Regions from separate parts of the Homo sapiens genome. Here all the other regions are linked to region 1. Evidence: promoter capture Hi-C in 16 types of primary human blood cells and fetal thymus (Javierre and others, 2016). All regions are on one chromosome and are shown on one strand. The core of a region is centred on a gene start or on the middle of the fragment in contact, and the rest is flanking DNA. Distances in the headings are between cores, read along the strand shown.

Region 1 (2,700 bases), core at 177-2,676:
CCTGCCACTGCTTCCACCAGGCAGCTAACATCACAGGGCTTCTTTCAGTTCCAGAAACACATCGCCCGCCTTGGCATTTTAGACCATGGCTCCGAAGCCGCCATCACACCACCACCCATGTTTATCAACGTAAGCCCCACTTCATCCTTTATTCCCTTATAATACCACTTCAAAATGCACCAGACATCCCCAATCTTGATTGTTGTTAAAAATGCAAGTTCCTGGGCCACGAGCAGTGGCTCACGCCTGTAATCCCAGTACTTTGGGAGGCAGAGGTGGGTGGATCACCTGAGGTCAAGAGTTTGAGACCAGCCTGGCCAACAAGGTGAAACCCCCTCTCTACTCAAAATTTTAAAAATTAGCTGGGCATGGTGGTGGGTGCCTGTAATCCCAGCTATTCGGGAGGCTGAGGCAGGAGAATCGCTTGAATCCGAGAGGCAGACGTTGCAGTGAGCCGCGATGGCGCCATTACACTCCAGCCTGGGCAACAAGAGCGAAACTCCACCACAAAAAAAAAAAAAAAAAAAAAAAAAAAAAAAAATGCAAGTTCCCAGGCTCCCGTCCAGACCAACTGTTGGGCCGTCTCCAGGGGAGGGACGTGAGAAGCTACATTTCAATCATGCGCCTCAGTTGGGTCTTTAGAGTAAGGTGGGGACACACTGTCCAGACTAGAGCTACCTGCCCTGGCTCTGCAGTCCCTGTCCTCAGGGTGGAACAGTGATCCCTCCTGGGCTTCCACCCCAAACCCTGGAAGGTCAAGGCCCGAAAATCCTTTCCATCAGTTTGCCCAAAAACAGATGAAATCAGCCCAAGGTGCTGAAGAGTACAGTTTATAAAACAGTAAAGCACATGTAGGAATGCCCTAAGTTCTACTTTTTCCTCATGATGCTGCTGTGAAGTTTTTCCACTTTATTTTTGTTTAAAAGTCTGTGAGCTCCGGACCCAACCCTCCACCTTAGCGTTGGTGTCCCGCCCGCCGCGGGGGTCGCAGGGCCGGCGCCGGGCCTGGCCGGAGCGAGGGGGTACTGGGGGCCTCGGGCCGCCCCGCGCCAGAGCCTCCGGCGCCTCACCCCCACCCCAAGGTCCTGCAGGCGAGGAGGCGGGGACCCCGGCGGCCGCGCCGCGGGACCCCGGGCGGGCGGGGGCGGGGCGGGCTGTGCTTGAACCACACGGTGACCGCGCGGGCCGTGCGCGCGCACACCCCCCGCACGCCCGCAGCCTCGCGCCGCGCGGCCTCTCCGGGAGTGGGGCCGGCCCGCCGGCGGCGGAGACGAACGATTCTCTCTAGGGTGCGCCCAGTGCCCCGCCTCACCTGGCCGCCGTCAGCCTCGTCGCCCCACTCGGCCGCGCTCCCGTAGTAGTCCTCGTCCATGATGGCGCCCGGCACGGCCCCCGCCATGCCCTCCCGCGAGCGAGCGCGGCGCATGCGCGAGGCGGGGACGGGCGGGCGGGCGCACGCGCGGCCGCGCGCCTCGGCCCGGGCGGGAGGCGGGGCCTGGAAGAAGGGGCGGGGCCTGGAGGAAGGGCAGGGCCGCGGGCTCGGCACTGGGAACAAAGGGGACCGGCGGAAGGAACGCCCCCAGTCGATCCCGGAGCGATGCCCGGGTGGACCAGGGGCTTAGCTCCGGAGAGAGGTTTCCCACTGGATTCGTGCACAGCCCCTCCCCTGCGGCGCCGGCTCTGCGAGCCCCAGTTTCCTCATCTGGCAGCTGGAAACAAATCCTTCCGGAAGTGTCCAGGACCCACGAAAGTGTTTTAATTTCTTTTAGTTTTGGTAAAAAGTACTAAACGCGACCGGGCGTGGGGGCTCACGCCTGTAATCCCAGCACTTTGGGAGACCGAGGCTGACGGATCACTTGAGGTCAGGAGTTCGAGGCCAGTCTGGCCAACATGGTGAAACCCCGTCTCTGCTCAAAATACAAAAATTAGCCGGGCGTGGTGGCATGCGCCTGTAATCCCAGGTACTCGGGTGACTGAGGCAGGAGAATCGCTTGAACCCGGGAGGCGGAGGTTGCAGTGAGCCAAGATCGCACCATTGCACTCCAGCCTGAGCGACAGAGCGAGACCCTATCTCAAATAAATAAATACATACATAAAAAGGGCAGGGCACGGTGGCTCACGCCTGTAATCCCAACACTTTGGGAGGCCGAGGCGGGCGGATCACCTGAGGTCAGGAGTTCGAGACCAGCCTGGTCAACATGGTAAAACCCCTTCTCTACTAATAACACAAAAATTAGCTGGGCATGGTGGCGGGCGCCTGTAGTCTCAGCTACTCAAGAGGCTGAGTCACGAGAACCGCTTGAACCCAGGAGGTGGAGGTTGCAGTGAGCCAAGATCACACCACCGCACTCCAGCCTAGGCAACAGAGTGAAACTGTGTCAAAAAAAAAAAAAAAAAGAAAAAGAAAAAGAAAGAAAGAAGAAAGAAAGAAAAGAAAAGAAAAAAGAAAAGAGAAGAAAAAGTACTGAATGCAGTGGAAAGTAGCATTTTTAATTTTTTATAAAGTGGAAGATAGGCCCACAAAGCAAAAGTGCCCAGAGCTGACAAAAATCTCTGGAGAAAGGACCTCTCTGGTCGTTGCCAAAGGGAGCAGCTGACGCTGTTGTAAAGCCCGCAGCTCGATTCCCAGCGTGAAGTAGGGGGTGAGAATATGACAGCCTCCTGATGATCACGGAAAGGTTTTTGTTTGGTTGTTGTGTT
Region 2 (2,700 bases), core at 19-2,518, 310 kb after region 1:
GGGTGACCCATTTAAAATGGCCTCTGTGTAAATTCACAGTTCATTAAATAGAGTCTGGTTTGAACAGGTCATTATGTAGTTAGTATATAAGTAATGGATTGAGCAAGGATGGCTGGGGATACCCATGGGGACACACTGGCTGAGTCTGGTGGCTTTCATAACACTGTCAAGCTTTCTTTTAATGTGAGATTCATTTAAATCACCAACTTAAATTTAGGTGGTTTTGCTTAGTAACCTCTTTTGGTTTACAGTAGAAAATGCAGTGCAAAAATTTTAAATGAGGAATATTCCATTTACAATTAATTTAAAACTTATGAAGCTGTTTTAACTGGCCCATCTAAATGTGTTAATTAACATCAATGATGGTTTCTTATTTTTCACACTTTGTTACTCTGATCATTAACAGTGATGGAAAAGCTAAATTAAGTTAATGGGGAACGGATTATAAATTCTTAAAGGACTTCTTAGTTTGTTTTCAACTGGAAAATATATAGAGAAAGATGAAGGGGCATTTTTGCCTCTACTCATCAATTTTTGGTACCAAATTTCTTAAAAACCAGATGGTTTAAAGAAAATTTTTCCAAAAATTATGTTAACATTCTGCTCAGACATGGCTGCTAAAAAAATAGCATATACACATATAATACTGAACAGCTTCTGCAGTGCCTGTAAACTCTCAGCTCATTTTCTCTTTCTAAAAAAAATATATATTATAACTGATCCCAGAACTCAATCTCTATTGTGCAGCAGTATCAAAGGTCCTTAAATTCTCAACAATGAAGGAAAAACAAAAACCCATTCCCCGGACCGCTTGAGCAGGACTAGGGAAGGAGGAGTCCGTGGATGCAAAGGTTCGCTGCCCCGACGCCCTCAGATTCCTCGAGGCTGCACCTCTGCGGGCAGCTGGCGGGGCGCAGGCCAAGCCCCTCACACCCGGGAGATCCACACGCGCGGCACACACGAAAACCCAATGCCACTTATCGAGACTTCACGCCAACGAGGACAACAATGAGCACAATGATGATGACAAATAATATTAAAATCACAAGCATCTTCCGATTCTTCTTTTGATACTGTTCTGCCTACAAAAAGAGGAGGGAAAAAAGGCCGTCATTTTCCCCAAAATCCCAAATCAAGTCCCACTCGTTTCCAGAATGAGGCTTCCAGATCTCTCTGCACAGTGACTGAGGTCTCTGCTACAGGCTACATGATTGTAATCCCTCCAATCAATCCCACGGAATTCAATCACCAGGAGTGGAAGAGCCCCATGATCCTGGTGCTGCTTATTTACCCTGGACGTGGAAATGGATTTGTTGGAAACCTACTACTAAGACAAAGCCTGACAGGGAAGTGAAAGCTCATGCTTCCGGGTGCAGCTGGGCCTGCTTCTCCCGGCTTTTCCTCCTGCAGGCCGTGGCAAGTGCCCCTGCAGCACGGGTCGCCTGTTCCCGGTCCGTGTTCCTGGAGCGAATGCACAGTTCCTTCACCGCGGAAGGAAACAACGGGCTGGAGGACCGTACCTGGCAGGTAGGCAACAGACACCCGGAAGAGGCCCCATTTCGACCTCCCCTAAATTTGGAAACAAAAACTCATCCTTTGAAATAAAAACAGACACGTGTGCCCCATGGATGTCATATGCAGAAAGATCCCTCTGAGGCGCGTCCTCCCAGTGCCGCTAACGATACAGCAAAGGAGCCCTCCAAGCTCAATCTGGGGACGAGGCTGCACCCTGCACATCTCTTCACCTTAACACCGCATCCTGGAAGCTCGGCAGGAGCGGGAACTCCATCATGCCTGCTAGAGAAATGCCAAAGGGCCCCACCTGGCTGGCGAAAGACGCAGAGCACTGAGAAAGGAGAGCCAGAGGACAGCAGAGTTCAGAGGGCGCCGGGAGGCACGTCCAGGGAGAGCATGCGCTGCCTCTTCCAGACCTTGCTATGGCACAGGAGGGAGGAGGAGACAGCGGGAAGGCAGCCCTGGCGAGAATGGCAATCTCTCCTGCTCCATCCCCCGCGGTGGGCTTGTTTCCTAAGTGAGCCTGCCCGCCCACCTGGAGGAGCCCCTCATCCACCAGGAGGAAACATCAGGCACGGGGACAGCACCGAGAGTCCGGTCATGGGGAGCAGCTCCCGACGCTCAATCACCCTTAGACTAGCCGACTGCCGAGCACGCGCGTGCTGCCTACAGCCTTGTGGCTGGAGGGAAGATGGAGCACGCTGACTTTTCTAATAAGTAACCCAGAACACCAGGGAAGCCAATACTAAATAATATACTGTAAAACCTCTCAAAATGATTTATAAAGTAGAACCTAAAACAAAATTTTTAGTTCCCACTAGATTTGCTCACTCCCGCAGAGAAAGCTTTTCCTTTTATCTGTGTTATATTACAAAACATATTTCACTAGTTTTTATTTAAGAAACTTCAAAACCAATGCATAATTCAGCAGCACATCAAAACCTGGGTATTACAGAGTGAGAAACTTAAGTTAGTTTTCACTTTTAATAGACAGGGCTTGGCAACCAAATTAATCTAAATGCTTAAAAAAACCCTGCATAGACAAGGTCAGACTTCTCTTCCCACCACAGGCTGGAGTCTCATATCCACCTACACATGGCAACAAGCCCCCTGAAAAGACAGCTCAGGGCTTCTGGTTAGACTAGTGCAAGGGCTGACTTTTTGTAAACCCAATACTGCTATTAA
Region 3 (2,700 bases), core at 196-2,695, 420 kb before region 1:
AAGGAGACGGCTTTTCAGGGTTCATCCCCACCCTCACAGGAGCACGGAGAGGGGCTCTGAAGCAAGAAGTCTTTGAGAGCTGACACCACTAAGTAGAGAAAATGGACAGAAGCTGACTCGGCAAACCTTCGCCACCTGGTCAACTGTACATGGATAGATCAAATTATGCATTCACTCACTTGACAAATATTTATTAAGTACTCCAATCCCTTACCTTCTCTTTGCATCCAGCACAAGCCAGCTCTGGCCGCTTCCCTGACCACTGCGCACCTGCCCCAGGGCCCTTCCTGCCATTCCTCAAACGGGCAGAGCTCATTCTCCCCTGACCCCGGGCCTCAACCTGCTATTCACTCTGCCTAGAATACCCTTCCTGCTGTTCTGCACTCAGCCAGCTCCTTCTTCTTATCCCCGCCCCCCGCCCCTTGTGTAAAGGAGCCCTCTCCAATTACTGTCTATCCTATTTTGCTTCATTCACAGCCTTTGTCTTCTGAAATTGTCTTGTTTACTTATTAATACATGGTTTTTGTCCTCTCTCCACCAGAATGTCAGTTCCCTGAGAGAAGAGGGACCTATCTTGTTCAGGCTGTGTCCCTAGCGGCCAGCACGGCTCCCGAAATATAACAGGTCCTCAATAAACATCTGTTGAAGAAACGATGTTCTCTTTAGCCTATCTCAGCCGGCGGGTTGAGAGGGAGAAGTAAGTAGGACACCGGGAAGGGCTTTAAAGCAGCACAAATACTCCCTGTGAGACCGGACTGGGATAAAGACAGGTTTTGAGCACTGACCTCACCGGGATGGTGGATGGGCAGGTGAGGACGACGGTGGCTTTGCCTCATCTCCCAGCTGTGACTGAGAGGCCCCCGTGGACCTGGCCCAGTGTGGCTCCATTAGTGGCCTCCCCAGGATCTGGCTAAGGTGGTATATTTTATGGTCCTGTCTATACTGCTGAGCTAATCCTTGTTAACAGGAGACAAGAGGGCATCAGAAAGATTGCCCCGGCCCAGAACTTCTTAGCTGGGATACAGTGAACACAAATCATTTGAATTCCCCACCCAGCAACAGCAGACATTCCCGGCATCCTCCTGAGCCTCTCCACTTGAACGTCTGCAGAGGTATTTATCCCATAACCATCCTGGGGTGGTCGATGCCAGGGAGATCCAGCTCCCCCTCGGCTGGGAGCTGTGCCTGCTTAGTCATAATGATCCCTCCACCGTTTGGACTGCTGCCTCCTGAGAGCCTGTCGGGTACAAAAGCTCTCAAAGCTTCATACTTCATGTGATCTTCCCAGAAGCTCTACCGGGGGGTGTTCTTTTAGACCAGTTCCAGATGGGGAAACTGAGGCACAGAAAGGCAACGTGAGTTGTTCAAGTTCCCCAGACAGTGAGTGGATGGGCAGAGAGTTGAGCCCACGTCTGTGTGCTCAGCCTGTCTCTGCTGCCTCTGGTGAACGAGGCGGGGCTGGACAGATGTGCGGGACCCAGGAGTACAGGAGAGCCCCCTAAGTCTGCACATTCTAGGACAGGAGATTGGAGACAAGTCCCTTTTCTTGGGGTCCTAAGTGGGGTTCACTGTGTCCCTGAAATCAAGGTCTCTTGGGCCCCTAAAAGGAAAGTTTTCTGGAAGCTTCTGGAAAAGTCCCTTGGAATCTGAACATCTACGAGAAGAGGAGAAAGGAAGGGAACATTGTATACAAAGACACCACAGCTGCCCAGTGGGTCAGGGGCGTGCGTCTCTGAGGGTCGGCTTAGACCTGGCAGCTCCGAGCCAAGCAGGGATTCGGGATCCGCACAGCCGGCGGGGGGCCCGGGGGGTGCGACCGCTGTGCTGCCGGCAGTTCCGCCCGCGGCCTCGTGGTGGCGCTGTTGTGCAGCGAGTGAGCGCGGCGCGTGGGGGAGGCTTCGGCAGCGCCGGGGCCCAGAGATCTGCAGACTTCGCTGCGCCAGAGTGGGGGTGCAGCGTGGGGAACAGCCCGCTGGCCCCTTCTTCCTCGGGCCCCGTGCCCCCCACTCAGGTTCCTGGGGCAAAGTCATGGTTGTTGTCATCGCCCCTGATTGAGCCTAGATGAGACGTGGTCCCAGAGACAAGGGATTCAGGGGACTGGAGGAGGGACCCCCGCTGGGGTGGCTCGTTGGGGACCAACTTGCCTGGCACCGAGATACCCTGCCCCGCTCCAGGCCTGGGAGCATCCTAGGAGACTGTGGCCCGGTGTCCTCGGGGGCCTGGCACGGGCTGGGTTCAGTGAAGTGGAGGGTCCCCTCTTTCTGGGCAGGGGCGTCTGGCCGCGAGGGCGTCACGGGGTACATTGAACTCCTGCTGCGACACCTGTGTATCCAGGCCCGGGAGAAGACAGAGCGCCTCCCTGCAAGGGGAGACCGGTTCCCACCTGGACTAGGTGCGGGGACAGGGGGAAGGTCCCTGAGAGGACCCTGGGGACGGAGCAGTGGGAGAAACTTCCTTCTTTCCTAGTGAAAGGCACTGCCTGCCCAGGGTGCAGAGTAAATGGACAGTGACATTGGGCCCAGACAGTGACACAAACACCCTTTTCAGACATGGAAAGGGGGTGCGTGTGACAAAGACAGAGAGCTCTCCTAGCTAAAGAGAGAATAACACAGGCACTCTCTTCTCGTGATAAGAAAATGGGTGACAGTGACCCATGCCCCTTTTTCTAAAGAGCAGGAGGGAGAGCGCCGGGTTTTCAGA
Region 4 (2,700 bases), core at 64-2,563, 280 kb before region 1:
GAAAGGAAGAAAATAAGGAAGAAAAGGAGGGAGGGAGAATGGAAGGAAGGAAAGAAGGAGGGAAGGAATGAAGGGAGGAAGGAAGAAAGGAAGAATGGAGGAAAGAAAGTAAGAAAAGAAGCAAGGAAAAGAGGGAGGGAGGGAGGAAGAAAGGAAGGAGGAAAGGAAGGAAGGAAGGAAGGAAGGAAGGAAAGAAGGAAAGAAGGAAGGAAGGAGGGAAGGAAGGCAGGTCAGTTCTCAATGGAGCCTCACAGTAGTGAATGCTATGATATGCCACCCAGAGCCCCTTTAGTGAAAGATTGTCAGCAAGCAGCCTTCAGCAATCTGTCCCTTCAGAGATTGCTTCAGTTGCAAAGAGCTGCCTCCCTCAAGGTCACAACTTTCTCAGGTAGCCCCAGGCAGCCCACATCCAGTGACTGATGAATGCAGGAGTCTAAAGTCCTGGTCTAGCCAACTTTAAAGGCCCATTCTAGCTGCAGAGCATCCCATGGGTTGGCCAAGGCTGCTGTTGCCTGTATCCATTTCCTCCTCCTCTACACAGATGTGGTTGTCCATGGTAACTCCCTAATAAACCCCTGGCACACCGAGCTCCATTTCAGAGCCTACTTCCCAGAGAACTCAACCTGAAATATTCATAATCTCTAGTAATCTAAGGCCCTCTCCTTGCAAATGGGTGGCCCCCAAACCTTAGGATAAACCAGTCGCAGAGAACTCAGGCTCCCAGGGGGAATAACACCAAGTGATATTCCCAGCTGCACTTCTAAGTTGAGCCAAAACAGTTTTTGCAAAAACCTCAGAAAAAAATGGCCTTTCTAGAGCCACTGTTGGAATCAGTAATGAGACATCTAGAAGTTTCTTTCACATGATTGAAAGAAATTTTAAGAGTAGAAAAAGTCACAGAAAGTGTAGCCTGGTGCCTGGCAATACACTAAATATCCAATAAATGTTTGTTGCAACAATGAAAGCTTCTTTTTTCTTATTCTCTGTTTCTCCCCTAAGAATTTAAAACTAGAAGATTATAAGACTAACACATTCAGCCCCATGCAGTTATTTTCTCCGAATCACTTGTTTTTAGCACAAAAGGGATAACTACTTGTGATGTATTTTTCCATTATTTTCTTTGTGCAGGAGGTTTTTAAATTAATTTAGTCTCTTTCTGCATCAGGTTGTCTTGTAATTGAAGATGTGAAGTGTTTGTCTTCCAAAGGCTTTCTGGTGATGTCTTTTTTGCTGTTAACATCTTCTTTGTCTATGCCTGTGATCCCTGCCAAATTGCCCACGGAACAGCAACTCAAGTGCATAAATTATGAGACCACATAAGCACCGGGCACATCTATTTGAGTCTAAATGTCTTAGGAGAGAAGTTTTCTTTTTGCAAAACAAACACAATCAAACCTTGATTAACTAGAACATTTGGGGGATGAGCAGTCTAGATAATTTGATTTTCTGGGTAATTTTCAGTTAACCAAAAAGTCATCAAAATTTTCAAACCCTGATGCAGAAAATCTTGACAAAAATGTCCTTCTTTCCACTTCTAGGAAAGACAGTAGAGCATAATGGAAAATTTTGGAAGCAGAAGGTGGTGGTGTCATGGCAAAAATGTTGGAGTTTAGGGGTGAAGTCCTGGTGTCAGTCACCACTTTGCCTCTCACTCAAGCTTGGGCAAAACCCTCTGGTCCTTGATTTCCCCTAAAAGGAAGAAGGAGCAAACCGATACTCTCGATTTTCTCAACTTGATGCCCAGCATTGGTGTTCATTCTTTTTCATTCCAGTTGGCTATAGAAGTTTGTAGAGCGTTTGGGTTGCATCTACTTTCACAGCAAAATCCTATCCTTCCCTATGTAAATATTTCCTTAGTGTCTACTCAGTGTTCAAGTGTGCTTGGGGATGGTAAAGCAATAAACAGCATCTATTCCCATAGACGTGTCATCCTTTCTCCTGGCTCTTTCTCCTCGAGGTGGAATGGAGCAGGGCAGGGGGATGATTTTGGGGTTTAAATTTTCATCAGTTAATGTCCTGCTGTGTGTAGGCTCTAGAAACATGTCCTAATGCAGCTGTGAAGAAATACCGGACTGTGGGCCCTGGACTCTGCCTCTGGTCCTGCCAGGGTACGTCTTTCTCTCCACTCCAGTCTCATCGTCAGCATGAGGGCTGAGCTGTTTCTGGGGCCAGCACTACACTGTCACCCTAACTCCTGAGACCAGAGCTTCTCAACCTCAGCACCTCTGGCACTATAGACTGGATACATCTTTGTTATGGGAACTGCCTTGTGTTACGCACTGCAGGACGTTGAGCAGAATCCCTGCCCTCTGCATACAGATGCCTGGGAAATAAAATTGCCCCCTCTGAGAACCACTGCCTTAAAGCATGATATCTTAATCTTTCTTGAGAAAAAGAATTTGGGAATGACAACATCAGTCATCAAATATTTGATGTTTCCTCCCAAGGAAGTTAGGTCTGAAATAGTGTCGACCTGGGTTTCTTTGCTATGTGGGATCAAAGATGCCTTCATTTCCTTTGTGCTGAGGTGCCTGGAAATTACCTTTTAGCAAAAGTAGTCCCAAGTTACGATGCTCAGGTAGAGAAGACACTGACATGGATTGAAGCTACCAGGAGGATAATAAAAACTATAAGCACAAGACTAATGGGAAGCATCTTTCAAGCTTCTGTGCTCCACGTAAGGAGAAATGAGGCTGCTGG
Region 5 (2,700 bases), core at 144-2,643, 330 kb after region 1:
TCAAGTGACTTAAGCTTGATTTTTTTTTTTTTTTAAAGCATTCCCCCATGGCCAAGTATGTGTTTCCTTGGAATTGAAATCTAGGTTGATGGTTTTACATTTTAAAAGCTTTCATTGTGACTCATTCTTGGCCTGGGCTAGGATTCGGTAATACTCCTCGGGCTTGGTGAGGCTCCGTGTCCTGTTTCTTGGGCTTCATACCCACTTTCTAACATTCTGCCAACGAATCCAATAAGTCACTTTTGGGGACAAGTGTTTCATTGTTTTCTTGTCATCTCATTCAGTGCAGGAGGAAGCCCCATTGAAGCCAGGCCATGGCTTGGGCAGGTGCAGGTTTTCAAGTACTGAGAGGGGATGGTTAGCTCAACAGGTCAGCAGTGGGACACACACCCTTTGGTGAAAACAATTTAAATGAGATAGGGCTCATGTAAGCCCTTATACAACCTCAGCATAGAGTAAGTGCGCCACAAATGGGCAATATGATTTATTACAGCAGTAGTCTTACTGTTGGAAAGCTCACGTGGGCTCTGCTCTCCCTGGAAGGCATCATAAACTCCAAAGAGAATGGCATGGTATTGAGAACTGAACACTTGGAAATCTAAGCACGTTTCCGAGCTTCTTGTTCTGGACCTTGGGAATCCAGATGTGTCTGCAGTGCACACTCATGTGGAAGAGGGGGCTAAACCATCTCAAAGACACCTTTTAACATTGGTCTTTCTCCCACCTATAGAAAGACAGATGGTTGTTTGCTTATCAAGCAGCAAAAGCCCCCAGGCCTAACATATGTCTCGTCTGCACAGATCTGACAGACAGATTCGGGCCAGGTTCGGGTAACAGGAGTTGTGTGTTCTGTGTCCCCAAATAGTTCCTCAAAACCTTGAGTATTTCCAACAACAGAAAACTCCCTATCTGGGTCTGTCTTCAGCTATGATGCCTCTCCCAAGAAGGGAGACTCTGGAGAGAGGCAACACTTTTGTTTTGTCTGGAGTCCCGTAGCTTTTAATACCAGACAATTCAATACAGTAGGCATTTCTAAAAATCTACCAGTGGCTGTGCCTATCTCTTGCCAGGCACTGCTGAAAGAATGAAACAGCAAAACTCTTGCCTTCAGGGAATTTGCATCTCCACTGTCTCTACCCAAATTCTGGTTCTCATCGTGTACATTTTCCCAGCAGCCTGCTAACAACCACCCGTCTCTTCCCTCCTCATCCTGCAGCCACAGTGACCTTTCCAAAGCATAAATCTGATCATGTCACTGCCTGATTGAGGCCCTGAAACAGCTCCCTCTGGCCCATGCCAGCCGATCTCAAATGACGCTCAGCAGAAAACAGGTGCTCTAAGTTGAACCAAGCTGGGCATCACTAATATTAACTAATGATGGACTTTTCTTGGTTGTCAGAAAAAAAAAAATGAAGCTAATTAATGGAGTAGTCTCCATCTTAAGTGTTTCTCTTCTCGCTTTCTCTTAAACCTTCAGTCCCTGCCACCACTTGGCTGTATTAGAATATAGTATAAGACTAGATCTGATTTATTCCAGAATCATGGATTTCAGTACAATTTTTTTCCCATAGATCAGTATTTCCTGGAGTTCTGCATTTAGGTTTTCTACACTTTCCACATGGCGGAGTGCCCCCTGGGCATTCAAAGCCCTGCCCAACAGGCCCCACCTAAATGGTGAGCTTTTTTCTTTCCAGGACTTGGCTCACAGGCCTTTCTCTGCCTGGTGGGGGTAGTGGCGGGGGATGTGTCTTGCCCCTTCTGCTTGGTGAACCCTTCATTGAAGACAGCACCCCCTACACTGTCAGGTGTGATAAATGTTTGCGGAATGGATGACTGGATGGATTAATGCACAAAAGGTGAGATTAACTATATTAAGTGCTAGAGAATACCAGACAGTCAAGACTCAAAATGGGTGGAGAGATTAGGGCAGTTCTCTGTCCCCCTCGCTCACCCCTTTTCAGCCACACTAGCCTTCCCACCATTCCTCACACCTCCTTAGCACCTGCTTTGCTCTCCTTCCTAGGTTCTTCAAATAACTGGCTCCTTCTCACCACTCTTGTCTCAGACTATTCAATAGAAAGTAATCCTCCTACCCTGTCCACCGTGTGGGGAGAGGACTCTCCTCTCCCAGGGCCCTTATGTCACCATCATACCAGGTGCCTGCCCATGCTTGGTCAAGTTCAAGACTGAAACAATGTCTAACATCGTGGCTTTTGGTCTTTGAGGCCAAGAAGAGGCCTCTTGGGTCACAACACATGCCAGCAAAGCATATCTGCATTTTACTTTTTTTCCAGGATGATGTGGACACATGTGTACTCAAATAAATCAACCCTCCCATCTTAACCATCTCCCTTGGCAGGAACAATAAGTTAATGTGCCAAGCCAGGACTGACCTGGATGACTCAAACCCTGAAAAACATAAAGGAAATCATTGTGTTTTTCCGCTAGCAGGTATTGAAACATAGCCAACTCACTCGTTTCTAGTTTTTTTTCCCATGGCCATGACCACTGACCTGCTCGTGGTAATTTGTGTGATGTGCAAGTGCAGGGCTGGACTCCAGCCTTCTCCAGATGCTGCCTGTGCAACCAGCAGCCCCTTATTAGCTATGTGGCCATGCATGGCTCAAGACTCCTTTGGTCACAAGGGACAGAACCCAAATCAAATGGACTTAAGCTTCAAAGCAAATGTGTTGGCCCAAA

The links. Contacts are between HindIII fragments. The CHiCAGO score rates a contact against its expected background, and 5 or more counts as called.
Region 2: a fragment that was not itself captured here is called in contact with the fragment with the promoter of NELFCD in region 1 in 1 of 17 cell types (neutrophils); the score reaches 5.9 in neutrophils.
Region 3: a contact is called between a fragment that was not itself captured here and the fragment with the promoter of NELFCD in region 1, in 1 of 17 cell types (total CD4 T cells). The highest score is 6.7, in total CD4 T cells.
Region 4: a fragment that was not itself captured here is called in contact with the fragment with the promoter of NELFCD in region 1 in 1 of 17 cell types (naive CD4 T cells); the score reaches 5.2 in naive CD4 T cells.
Region 5: a fragment that was not itself captured here is called in contact with the fragment with the promoter of NELFCD in region 1 in 1 of 17 cell types (neutrophils); the score reaches 7.0 in neutrophils.

The regions. Positions count from the first base shown.
Region 1 is chr20:58,979,982-58,982,681 of GRCh38, reverse strand. It overlaps NELFCD (negative elongation factor complex member C/D), which reads right to left and starts at 1,426. Exons shown (of 15, transcript NM_198976.4): 1 at 1,313-1,426. The coding sequence starts at 1,372. RefSeq lists an enhancer at 668-1,168 and a silencer at 1,091-1,570. The HindIII fragment of the contact is 8,660 bases long and covers 1-2,700 here.
Region 2 is chr20:58,674,569-58,677,268 of GRCh38, reverse strand. It overlaps STX16 (syntaxin 16), which reads right to left. Exons shown (of 9, transcript NM_001001433.3): 9 at 1-1,082. The coding sequence ends at 978. The region is part of intron 8 of STX16-NPEPL1 (STX16-NPEPL1 readthrough (NMD candidate)); the gene reads right to left. Among named protein-coding and RNA genes, the nearest start is that of NPEPL1, 17 kb to the left of the region's middle. RefSeq lists enhancers at 392-916, 917-1,442. The HindIII fragment of the contact is 2,189 bases long and covers 174-2,362 here.
Region 3 is chr20:59,403,044-59,405,743 of GRCh38, reverse strand. No RefSeq gene overlaps it. Among named protein-coding and RNA genes, the nearest start is that of EDN3, 100 kb to the right of the region's middle. RefSeq lists an enhancer at 809-1,309. The HindIII fragment of the contact is 361 bases long and covers 1,265-1,625 here.
Region 4 is chr20:59,262,822-59,265,521 of GRCh38, reverse strand. No RefSeq gene overlaps it. Among named protein-coding and RNA genes, the nearest start is that of EDN3, 36 kb to the left of the region's middle. The HindIII fragment of the contact is 692 bases long and covers 968-1,659 here.
Region 5 is chr20:58,645,433-58,648,132 of GRCh38, reverse strand. All of the region lies in intron 1 of LOC107985410 (a long non-coding RNA gene), which reads left to right. Among named protein-coding and RNA genes, the nearest start is that of STX16-NPEPL1, 4.5 kb to the left of the region's middle. RefSeq lists a silencer at 346-640. The HindIII fragment of the contact is 2,566 bases long and covers 111-2,676 here.